4 separate regions of the Homo sapiens genome follow, and regions 1, 2 and 4 are each linked to region 3. Evidence: promoter capture Hi-C in human tissues and cell types (Jung and others, 2019). All regions are on one chromosome and are shown on one strand. Each heading gives the region's core, a stretch centred on a gene start or on the middle of the fragment in contact. The rest is flanking DNA. Distances are from core to core; before and after follow the strand shown.

Evidence for each region. Contacts are between HindIII fragments. The study calls those that stand out against the background at their distance.
Region 1: a contact is called between a fragment that was not itself captured here and the fragment with the promoter of RNASEH2B in region 3, in 1 of the 25 tissues and cell types used here (mesenchymal stem cells).
Region 2: a fragment that was not itself captured here is called in contact with the fragment with the promoter of RNASEH2B in region 3 in 1 of the 25 tissues and cell types used here (lymphoblastoid cells).
Region 4: a contact is called between a fragment that was not itself captured here and the fragment with the promoter of RNASEH2B in region 3, in 1 of the 25 tissues and cell types used here (heart left ventricle).

The regions. Positions count from the first base shown.
Region 1 is chr13:49,663,127-49,666,035 of GRCh38, forward strand. It overlaps EBPL (EBP like), which reads right to left. Exons shown (of 4, transcript NM_032565.5): 3 at 1-69. Among named protein-coding and RNA genes, the nearest start is that of EBPL, 27 kb to the right of the region's middle. The HindIII fragment of the contact is 6,425 bases long and covers 1-2,909 here.
Region 2 is chr13:49,709,276-49,711,975 of GRCh38, forward strand. It overlaps KPNA3 (karyopherin subunit alpha 3), which reads right to left. Exons shown (of 17, transcript NM_002267.4): 11 at 1,616-1,747; 12 at 297-425. Among named protein-coding and RNA genes, the nearest start is that of EBPL, 19 kb to the left of the region's middle. The HindIII fragment of the contact is 7,351 bases long and covers 1-2,700 here.
Region 3 is chr13:50,908,354-50,911,140 of GRCh38, forward strand. It overlaps RNASEH2B (ribonuclease H2 subunit B), which reads left to right and starts at 1,438. Exons shown (of 11, transcript NM_024570.4): 1 at 1,438-1,787. The coding sequence starts at 1,724. RNASEH2B-AS1 (RNASEH2B antisense RNA 1) reads right to left here and starts at 2,359. Exons shown (of 3, transcript NR_046552.1): 1 at 2,130-2,359. RefSeq lists silencers at 1,253-1,682, 1,693-1,932, 2,143-2,192. The HindIII fragment of the contact is 12,674 bases long and covers 1-2,787 here.
Region 4 is chr13:49,229,414-49,232,156 of GRCh38, forward strand. No RefSeq gene overlaps it. Among named protein-coding and RNA genes, the nearest start is that of MLNR, 10 kb to the left of the region's middle. The HindIII fragment of the contact is 4,900 bases long and covers 1-2,743 here.

The sequences.
Region 1 (2,909 bases), core at 20-2,519, 1.2 Mb before region 3:
GAATTTCCACAGACACAATGGTTGGATCAAAATAAACCCATCTTGCATCAGCTTTGCCATATTCTTTCCCTAAAGACAAAATCCATGTTGTTACTCAAATGGCAACAATTTTTATGACAGTTCATGGAAATGACCTTTCTTTCCTTTAAGGTGGAGATAAAATGAGTAATCGCCACTCTCTCTGCATTCTTCACGATGCCTTAGTGGAAGGCAGGAGAAGCCCTGGGACCAAAATGCGTTTACCACCTGACACAAGCACTGAGAACAGCAGCAGGTTTACAGGTGTCCAATCATTCAGTTTCCAGCATGCTTTCACATACACGCCCTCCTCAGCCCCACCCTCTTCAACATAAGTAGCAGAATTTTAAAAGAATTCAACATGGTCAGATTTTGCAAAGACAATCTCCAGTCATGATCTTGGTAAATACATTGTAATTCCTTACTTCAAAATTTCCATATAAATTCTGTAAGTATAATGGAGATGTGGGAAATTTGTTATGAAGGACATGTTTATAAAAAACACGTTTATGGCCAGGCACGGTGGCTCACACCTGTAATCCCAACACTTTGGGAGGCCAAGGCGGGCAGATCACGAGGTCAGGAGATCGAGACCATCCTGGCCAACATGGTGAAACCCTGTCTCTACTAAAAATACAAAAAATTAGCCAGGCATGGTGGCGGGCACCTGCAGTCCCAGCTGAGGCAGGAGAATGGCATGAACCCAGGAGGCGGAGCTTGCAGTGAGCCGAGATTGCGCCACTGCACTCCAGCCTGGGTGACAGAGCGAGACTCCGTCTCAAAAAAAAAAAAACAAAAAAACAAACAACCAAAAACTTGTTTCTTGGCCAGGCACGGTGGCTCACGCCTGTAATCCCAGCACTTTGGGAGGCCAAGGTGGGCGGATCACTTGAAGTCAGGAGTTTGGGACCAGCTCAGCCAACATGGCGAAACCGTGTCTCTACTAAAAATACAAAAAGTAGCTGGGCGTGGTGGCGCATGCCTGTAATCTCAGCTACTTGGGAGGCTGAGGCAAGAGAATCGCTTGAACCCAGGAGGCGGAGGTTGCAGTGAACCGAGATCGCACCACTGCACTCCGGCCTGGGCAACAAGAGCTAGACTCTATCTCAATACAACAACACGTTTATTAATAACAGAAGAGAAACTAGGTGCTGAAGGGACAGTGGGCAGGGAGGGGAGGAGAGAGCCCAGACTGCAGAATGAATCGGAGTGGGCAGAGGGGCATCTCCGCCCACAGGGACAGGGAACTCACAATGGCTCTCACACAGTCTCAGCTGTGCTGCTTGGGGAGCCAGTGTGCTCTCAGAGATCCATCCAGACCCATTATCAGAGTGGTTTCTTCTCAGGAACACCATGACTCAGAAAGTCTTTTCAGGGCTGGAATGATGGCCAGGTATTATGGAGGCCATTAAAAATTATTTAATTACTTTCTTAATTTGTAAAAGTAATACATGCTGGTCCTAAGATCTCAAATGATTACAGTGAAAAAATGGAAGTGATCACACCTCGTCTCCCCCTTTAATACTGCCTCGCATTATTCAGAAAAGGTGTGAAGTCCACAGAGGAGCCTGTGATCTGCTACTGAGCAGCACACAGCTCTTGTCTCATAAAGACCAGAGGAAGGATCCCTCAGGGCCTGGGACAAAGGTTTCTAACAAAAGGCTGTCCTAAGAGAAAGGACAATAAGAGGATTAGCTATTTAATGGGATAACACACAAGGCACATGCTGAGGGAATGTTCTGTGAGAGGCCACCGAGAGTCATCAGCCTGTCCTTAGCTGACTGTCTGCAGTCTCCTGTGCCCTCCAATAACTAACTGGAAAACAATGTCATATTGAAACGTTTCTCCTCTAAATTTAAATATACATACAATAGGTGAAATGTACCAGTTAGTGCACCTAAAATCTAATAAAATATCACCTAAGTAAAATGTCAGTTCTTTAGGAACAAAAAGAGATATTGACCAAGTCTTTTTTTTTTTTTTTTTGAGAAGGAGTCTCACTGTTACCCAGCCTGGAGTGCAATGGCATGATCTCGGCTCACTGCAACCTCTGCCTCCCAGGTTCAAGTGATTCTCCAGCCTCAGCCTCCCAAATAGCTGGGACTACAGGCACCCACCACCACACTCAGCTAATACTGACTGACTGAGACGGAGTCTCACTTTGTCACCCAGGCTGGAGTGCAATGGCCAGATCTTGGCTCGCTGCAACCTCCGCCTCCCGTGTTCAAGCAATTCTCCTGCCTCAGCCTCCCAAGTAGCTAGGATTATAGGCACTCACCACCATGCCCGGCTAATTTTGTATTTTTAATAGAGATGGGGTTTCACCATGTTGGTCAGGCTGGTCTTGAACTCCTGACCTCAGGTGATCCACCTGCTTTGGCCTCCTAAAGTGCTGGGATTACAGGCTTGAGTCACTGCACCTGGCCTAATTTTTGTATTTTTGGTAGAGACAGGGTTTCACAATGTTGGCAAGGCTGGTCTCAAACTTAACCTCAAGTGATCCATCTGTTTTGGCTTCCCAAAATGCTGGGATTACAGGCGTGGGCCACCGTGTCCAGCCTTCAACAAGTCTTTTTTTTTTTTTTTAAGCATTTGGAAGGTGTTATGGTAGGCCCTGATAATGCAGCTGCAAGTAGGACCATGTTGGCCCTTAGTGGCCCACATCCTAGTGAGGCTGAAAACCAGGCAGTAAGTGGCGGTTAGCGAATATGAGGGCAGGGAAGAAGTGGCACTGAAGCCAGACTACGAACTTCAGGGAAGACTTCCTGGAGGAGGTGTTTTGATCACTGCCTCTCTTCCCTGTTGGTGAGGGATGGACTTCTGCCTGAGGGCTATGGTGATGGCTGAACACACAAGACCCGACACTGGGCAGATGAGATGGAGGAGGTTTA
Region 2 (2,700 bases), core at 58-2,557, 1.2 Mb before region 3:
CTGTAGTCCCAGCTTCTCGGGAGGCTGAGGCAGGAGAATCGCTTGAACCCAGGAGGCAGAGGTTGCAGTGAGCCGAGATCGTGCCACTGCACTCCAGCCTAGGCAACAGACAGACTCTGTCTCAAAAAAAAAAAAAAAAAAGTTGAAGAAAAACATTTGCAGAGGTGATTTAAAATAATTCTCATCTTCGCTGCAGTGGCTTTTAAGAAAAACATACAAGTAGCAATAGAAACAAGGAGACAGTTAAAAATGAGACACAGAAAGAAATAGCATAATGAGGACATTATATGCCTTACCTTATTTATCTTCTCTTTTGGGTGTGATAAGAGATTTGGGAAGTGTGACAGGACATCACAATTGAGAACAACCTGGGTCTGCTCGTCGGTGCCAGTCACTATGTTGCCAACTGCTCTGAGGGCTGCTGTCTAGGGTGGGGATAAAATGTTTTCTATAAATTTATTTGCTTATAAGACTAATTCTATATTTTTCATAATCCTGAGAAAAAGTAAAAATGCAAGGCATAAATAACACTTATTTCATCCTTTCACAAAGCACCAAGCAGTCTGAGAGCTATTCTGAATTTTAAATAGTCTCTTGTGAAAAACTGAAACTTTATGAAAAAAAAAAATTGTGTGAAAATTGGTTGGAAAAAGATTCAAAAAATAAAAGGAAATTAAAATTTTAGAAGAAGTCCAGTTTCTTAAGGCTGGGCATGGTGGCTCATGCCTATAATCCCAGCATTTTGGGAGGCCGAGGCGGGGGGGATCACCTGAGGTCAGGAGTTTAAGACCAGCCTGGGCAACATAGTGAAACTCCATCTCTACTAGAAATACAAAAATTAGCTGGTGTGATGGTGCATGCCTGTAATCCCAGCTACTCTGAAGGCTGAGGCAGGAGAATCACTTGAACCTGAGAGGCAGAGGCTGCGGTGAGCAGAGATCGCGCCACCATACTCCAGCTTGGGCGACAGAACAAGACTCCATCTCAAAAATATATATAATATTTTAATAAACGCCTGGAATGGGCACACACTTCCACCTAGAAAGTCACTTTGGTAAAGCAGGATGAACAGATCTAATAAGTGCCTACCCCTAATTAGAGTGGGAGAGAGAAAGAAGAAATGCAATTAGGTTATTGCAATTATTTGGGGGAAAGATAGAGTCTTGAACTAAATCTGTTGTTCTAGATAGATAAGGAGAGACAGATTTGAACCTATATAAGAAGAATTGAAATGATTTTGTAATGGAATGGGAATTGCAAGGAGGAATCAAAATTTCTAGCTTAGGCCATGCTGTTCACTGAAGGTAGACAAGGAAGAAGAGCAGGTTTGTGGGAGATGATCGTTTCATTTCTGTCTAGTTAACCACGGAAAGCTTGAAGGAGTTCTTAGATGATATGTATAAAGGGTCAAGAACAATTGGCTATACAAGTGTGGAACTCAGCAAAGAAACTGGGTGAGATAAAGATTTGGAAATCAACAAAATCAGGCTCAGGGACTAGCAGAAGAAATGTGGAAGATAAGCACTTACAGATAGAATTAAAGCCTAGCTGTACAAGTTAACTGGTTATAGCAAACACAACTGTATACAAATAAGAAAAATTTAAAAATACTTACTTGAACTTTGACTTCCTGATGGCTCAGAAGGGGCACAAGAAAGGGCACAACTCCTGAATCAATAACCATCTGTATCTGTTCATTACCTCCATCTGTCAAGTATGACAGAGCCCAAACAGTGTCTACAAGAATCTACAGGAAACACAAAAGAAAAACCATTTTACATATTTGTTTGAATGCTTTACTTGTTCAACACACCTCAGGAGTAGTGACAGAAAAAGTAACCAAATTTCAAGTTTTAGCTTAGTGGCAAAAATATCTGCTTAGCTGATTAATCTATTAAGTAGAAAGTACCTTATCTTTCTTTCAGTGCCTACCTCAGATCATTCTTCACAGAAAATGAGACACAGAAGTCTGGGAAAACTTCTATTCCAACTTCTGCATTTATGTATCAGACAGATGAATTTAAAAACAGGCAGAAAAGTAATTCTCCCTGCCCTCACAAATTAGCTACCTAATAATCCCACAGAAAAACACTATTTACAAGAATGAGGCCAACACACCATACTGTTTCAAGTTCAGAAGAGAACAGAAAGGTCATCTATTTACTCTACTGGTTTTCCAACATATTTAGCAATACAATTTTTCAGGCTACTAAAGTAAACCAATAAAAGAAATGACTTGGCACTTTAACTTCATCTGGGGAAAAAACTGTTTGAAAATCTCCTGAAATGTGTCCCCAACTGAAGTATAAACCTGGAGTATAAACCATGCCCTAGGCCTATCCTAACTTTGCAACTACATAGAAGAAAACAGGCTTAGCGATCTGGTGATTCATTCAAGGTCAAAGATCTTGTATGTGGCATTGCTTGGTGTCGTCACAGAGGAATATAAGCACTGGTTGTAGCTTATGCAAAATCAAGATGTTTCCTATTAGGTCATCCAAATTGAAGACATCACATCTTTTTGCCCTAAAATAATAGCAGGCACCTGAATTCACATACCCTTCAAAAAAGGATATAGATGAATAAATAAAATAGAACTACACATATAACCCACACCCCTTCAGCATTACTAAGAGTCAGAGAACACTAAAAATTTCCATTATCTGTAAGAGGAGAAAAAATTAAATTCTAGCTTTTGTC
Region 3 (2,787 bases), core at 188-2,687:
TTGGATCCCATCCTACAGGAATAATGGGGTGCTCCTGTAGCTGTTAGTAAGACGATGGTGTGCCTGGGGATTTGTGCTATACACCACAGCATCTTCTACAGTCGTTTTGGGGGAGAGGGAAGATCAGAGCAGTACCAATCTGCTGCTCCTTGCCCCAAAACTGGCAAGAGGCGCCTTTCCTCAGCCAGAAAGGCCTCTTCTCCACCAGCTGTGTCCTGCAATCAACTGCAGCTGTATTGGTCTCACCCCATGGGAAACAGGTTTGAAGTTAAAAACCTTTTCAGAGGGCCGAGATAAATTTAGTGCTGCTAAATTTAACTATCTTCAAGATTAAACATGAAAAGCAAAGTGCATGAGTTATGTATATTATTCTTTCAATTGTGCAAAAATAAGACATTAACTTGTTTTTGCATGGAAAAATTCTGCAAGAATAGAGAAGAAATGTTAACAGTTACCCCTGGGATCTGGGATAAAAGAGATACATCATGCTTTTCTTTAAAAAAAAAAAAAATAGGTTTTTGTGGATTTTTTTGTTTTTGTTTTTTTTGACAGAGTCCAGCTCTGTAGCCCAGGCCAGAGTGCAGTGGTGGGATCTCGGTTCACTGCAACCTCCATCTCCTGGGTTCAAGTGATTCTTGTGCCTCAGCCTCCGTAGTAGCTGGGATTACAGATGTGCACCACCACACCCAGCTAATTTTTGTATTTTCAGTAGAGACGGAGTTTCACCTTGTTGGTCAGGCTGGTCTCCAGCTCCTGACCTCAGGCGATCCGCCCGCCTCGGCCTCCCAAAGTGCTGGGATTACAGGCCTGAGCCACTGCGCCTGGCCCGTGCTTTTCTCTAAAGTATGAAAGGAATATGTACTTTCTTCTTAAAAACCATGTACCAAACAACACTTTTCAATTAAAATGTTATTTTTAAAAGTTTAAATCCCCAAATTTCATGGCTCTAACTTTTTAAACATCACTTTTTAAATAAATGTCTAAGTTTTTAACTCAGTATACAGCGTTCTCCAAAACAACAAATTCATATTCTGAGCCCAAAACTGTGCACCTCTTTTAGTGATGAGGACGGAGTCCAAATTGAGGACATCCCTTGTAGCTCACAATGCACACATATTCTCACATCAATAGCAACACAGAATGCAACTGATGACCAATATATATTCACAAATAATTGAGGACCATGGCTAAGAGTTGCATTCGGATTCCGATGTGACTGCTATTGTCCTTAACACGGACTAGCTCCAGGTGAGTCCCCCGGCCCCGGGGGTGTGGCGGGCGTCACCCGTTGTCCGGGCACACACCCCGCAGACCCAATCCTAGCCCGCTGGCTAGACCATGGAGGGCCGCTGGGTGCAGCCACAGAGCGCGGGGCCCCGGCGACCCCGCCCCGCTCCGCGTCACTCGGCGCCCTGCGGCGCGCGATGAGCACCTACCACTAGCGGAGCCGCGAGGGAGAGGCCGCGGCCCCTTCCCGTTGCCTGCGGCCACCGGCCGGCATTCAGAGCCCCTCGCCTGGCGCTAAATTTAAAAACGTAACACGAGCAGCAGGCTGGTCTCGGAAACGAAACGAAATTCGGTCCCTGGGCCTCCTCCCGGGCGCTGCCGGTCCCTCAGCGCGCCGCGCCACCCGGAACAGACCCTTCTCCCGCCATTTTCGGCGGGGCTGGGAGACTGAGGCCCGCGGCGCTGAGCCTGCGGCGCCCCGGAAGAGGCGGGCGGCATGGCCGCTGGCGTGGACTGCGGGGACGGGGTTGGCGCCCGGCAGCACGTGTTCCTGGTTTCAGGTAAACACGCGCGCCCGGGCGGCGGGGTCGGCCCAAGAACTGGCGGAGCGGCCCGCGACCCCGGGCGCGCCGCCCCCCACCCCGGTGGCTCCCACTACCCGGCCCGGCGCGGGATGGGATTCTCTCTGGGACAGCTGGCCCCGCATTTTGGTCACACGTCATAGCAAGCCGCGGTTTTCAAACCCGGAAGCGCCGAAAAGGACCGAGCGTGTTTCCCGGGCCCTGATCCCCGGTGGCTCGGGTGGGAGGGTGGAAGCCGACTCAGCCTGAGGGGAGCCACGCGGGTTCGCGGTCACCGGTGCGCTGCGGGCCCCGGAGGTTTCTGCCCTTGGTGTCCCCTACCTGGCAGCTGGCCCTGCTTCTGTGATCCTACTGGGTTGGAACCAGGGATCCAGTAGGCTCGAAGTGGCCTCAGACGGTGCGCAGTTTTAAGAAAGCAAAGGGACAGGCCTGCAGTGGCGAGGCAGGAGGGAAGCGGGATGGGAGTCGCGGTTAGGCCAAGGGTAGTTCAAAGCGATTCAGCAGGATGATGACCACAGGAGTGCTGGAGCCGGGCCTTTCAGCCCCCGTGTGGATGATGACCGGCCATCCAGGACATGCGAGGGCTTGGGACAGTGGACAGCCAGTGCCACACAAGGAAGGACCGATTAAATGACACAGTTAAAGGAATTTGGCCTAGGGAGTGCAAGCCAGAAAGGTTTGGTCTTTTTATATATGTAACATTGGAAAAAAGGAACATCTCCTGTTCCCTGTATTAAGTTTTGACTTTAGCTCAGCAAATGCAGTGTTTGTGGCAGTAAATATACTCTGATAACAATATTCTTTCCCAGGAATTTAGAGTTTTATGATGGTTATTGAAAATGTTTACATGACAGGCTGTCAATAATATTTTTTGCCTCTAAAAATAAAACATACATAAAGTGTACGGATTTTAAGTATGCAACTCACTGAACTTTTCATACGTATACACCACCCTAGTAACCATCCCCCAGTTCAAGAT
Region 4 (2,743 bases), core at 104-2,603, 1.7 Mb before region 3:
TAGATTTGATAAATACTACTTAAATGTAAATGGAGGATAGCAACATTTTGGACAGGGAAAAATATCGATTTCTTAAAAACTAAGTTCATTGCAGTATTATAATACATTATAATGGAGTGTTTAGTTATATAACTATTGCAATGTACGTATAACATATAATAATACAAGGTACTTGGTATGCCATCTGGAATGCAGTAATTCTCAGTAAATGTGAGCTAGCATTTTTGTCCTCAGTTCATATCCTATTAACTATCACTTGTTGGGTCTTTTTGTTTGTTTTTAAAAACATGAAACAAAAGTACTGAACATTTATTTTCTAAAAATCCAACAACTCATAAGAGGCATATTCACTTCATTACTTAGCTTTTTAAGGGACACCATTGGCATTTTACTCCCAAAGGATGCTATCTTTCACTGAAAGTCTTCAGTTATTTTTTGTATTTATAATAACCCCATTCATATGATTCTGAGTTATCCTCCAGCATGCATCTTTAAAAACTGGATTCTTGTGCCTAATGCAAGCATCTGGCTTTCTTAAATAAAGATGAAAATGGCCAGGTGCAATGGATTGAGCCTTATAGTCCGAGCTACGCAAGAGGCTGAGGTGGGGACTACTCTCTTAAGCCCAGGGGTTGAAACCTGCAGTGAGCTATGATCGAGCCACCGCACTCCAGCCTAGGCAACAGAGCAAGACCTCACCTCTAAAAATAAATAAAAATAAAAATGCATTTCATAAACACATTTCCCAGTAGCAGTTCCTAAGTTGGATTCTTTAAATGTTCCTTTACTAATTTCCATATACATTTTGATTTCCTTCGACAAGGAAAAAATACAAAGTATATTTTATGTTTAAGTTGTTGGGCTATATATAAAAATGAATAGGCCTGTAATCCCAGCACTTTGGGAGGCAGAGGTGGGTGGATCACTTGAGGTCAGGAGTTTGAGAACAGCCTGGCCAACATGGTAAAACCCTGTCTCTACTAAAAATACAAAAAAAAAAAAAAAACCAACTAGCTGGACGTGGTGGCACATCCCTGTAATCTCAGCTACTCGGGAGGCTGAGGCATGAGAATCACTTGAACACAGGAGGTAGAGGTTGCAGTGAGCCGGGATTGTGCCATTGCACTCCAGCCTGGGCAACAGAGTGAGACTGTCTCAAAATAATAATAATAATAATAGGACCAGGACCCTTAACCTCAAGATTCTGTGACTTGTCAGGATGGGGGAAAAAAAGTATGTAAATAAGTATAGATGTGATTAAATAAGTTTTAATAAAGAGCAGGGGAATTTAGAGAAACTGTACCAAGCATTAAATGTATTACTTTTAGTAACCAGAAATTCCTTCCATGGATGTAGTTAAGATTTTATAGTATTTGGGAGGCCAAGGCAGGAGGACCATTTGAAGCCAGGAGTTCAAGACCAGCCTGGGCAACATAGCAAGACCCTGTCTCTACAAAAAAAACTAAAAAGTTAGCCAGGTGTGGGAGTGCACACCTGTAGTCCCAAGCTGCTAGAGAGGCTGAGGCAGGAGAATCACTTGAGCCCAGGAGTTCAAGGCTGCAGTGAGTTATGCTTGCACCACTGCACTCTAGCCTGGGTGACAGAGTGAGACCCTGTCTCAAAAAATAATAATAATAAAATAAAAGATGTTATAGTGATTGTTGGCTCAAACCATGCAAACTCTGCTGAACATAGTTTATTAACAATAACTCTCCATCTGAGGAGTCATTAAATCTTTCTGAGCTCAGTTTGCTCACATGTAAAGTAAGAAGGTTAGAACCAAATTATTTGTCATCTCTTCTACATAAATTATTCTGTGAATCCCTCACTTCCCTCAGCCTTGTAGGTTTGGGTATATTTTAGAAATTTGCTAGAATTAGGCCAGGTACAGTAGCTCTCACCTGTAATCCCAACACTTTGGGAAGCCAAAACAGGAGGATCGCTTAAGCCCAGGAGTTCAAGACCAGCCTAGGCAACATGACGAAATCTCATCTCTACAAAAACTACAAAAACATCCAGGTGTGGCGGTGCATGTCTGTAGTCCCAGCTACTCGGGAGGCTGAGGTGGGAGGATCACTTGAGCCCAGGAGGTCAAGGCTGCAGTGAGCTGTGATTGTACCACTGCACTCCAGCCTGGGTAAGAGAGCAAGACCCTGCCTCAAAAAAAAAAAAAAAAAAAAAGTACTAGAATTAAACAAAAGAGACTTGTTGCACCTAAAATAGCTTTTTATAAAGCTTTCAAGTCCATGAGGTTGATTTTCATTTAAAATACAGTTGCTAACAAGTTGGGTCATCTGCTGTGCCCACCAATAGCATGTTAAAAGCATTCAATAGGATGGCACAAGAGAGGAAGGGCTATTAGCAACAGAACAGTGATGTTGGGAGATGGGGTAACTAGACTGACAGGAAAGAATGAGGAAAAGTGGGACATCCAATGGTGAGGTCCATCACACTGATCCTGAGCCCCCGACGGCAACACCAAACTATGCTCAGCACTTTTTAAAGAAATTATTTAAACTGACAAATAAAAATTGTATATGTTTATTGTATGCAACATGATGTTTTGATAGATATATGTTGTATACATTGTGGAATGGCTAAATCAAGCTAATTAGCATATCTGATACCTCACATACTTTTTTGGTAAGAATATTTAAAATCTACTGTCTTCGCAATTTTTAGATATACAATTTATTTTTGTTAACCATAGTCACCATGATGTACAATAGATTTGCTTTCTTTT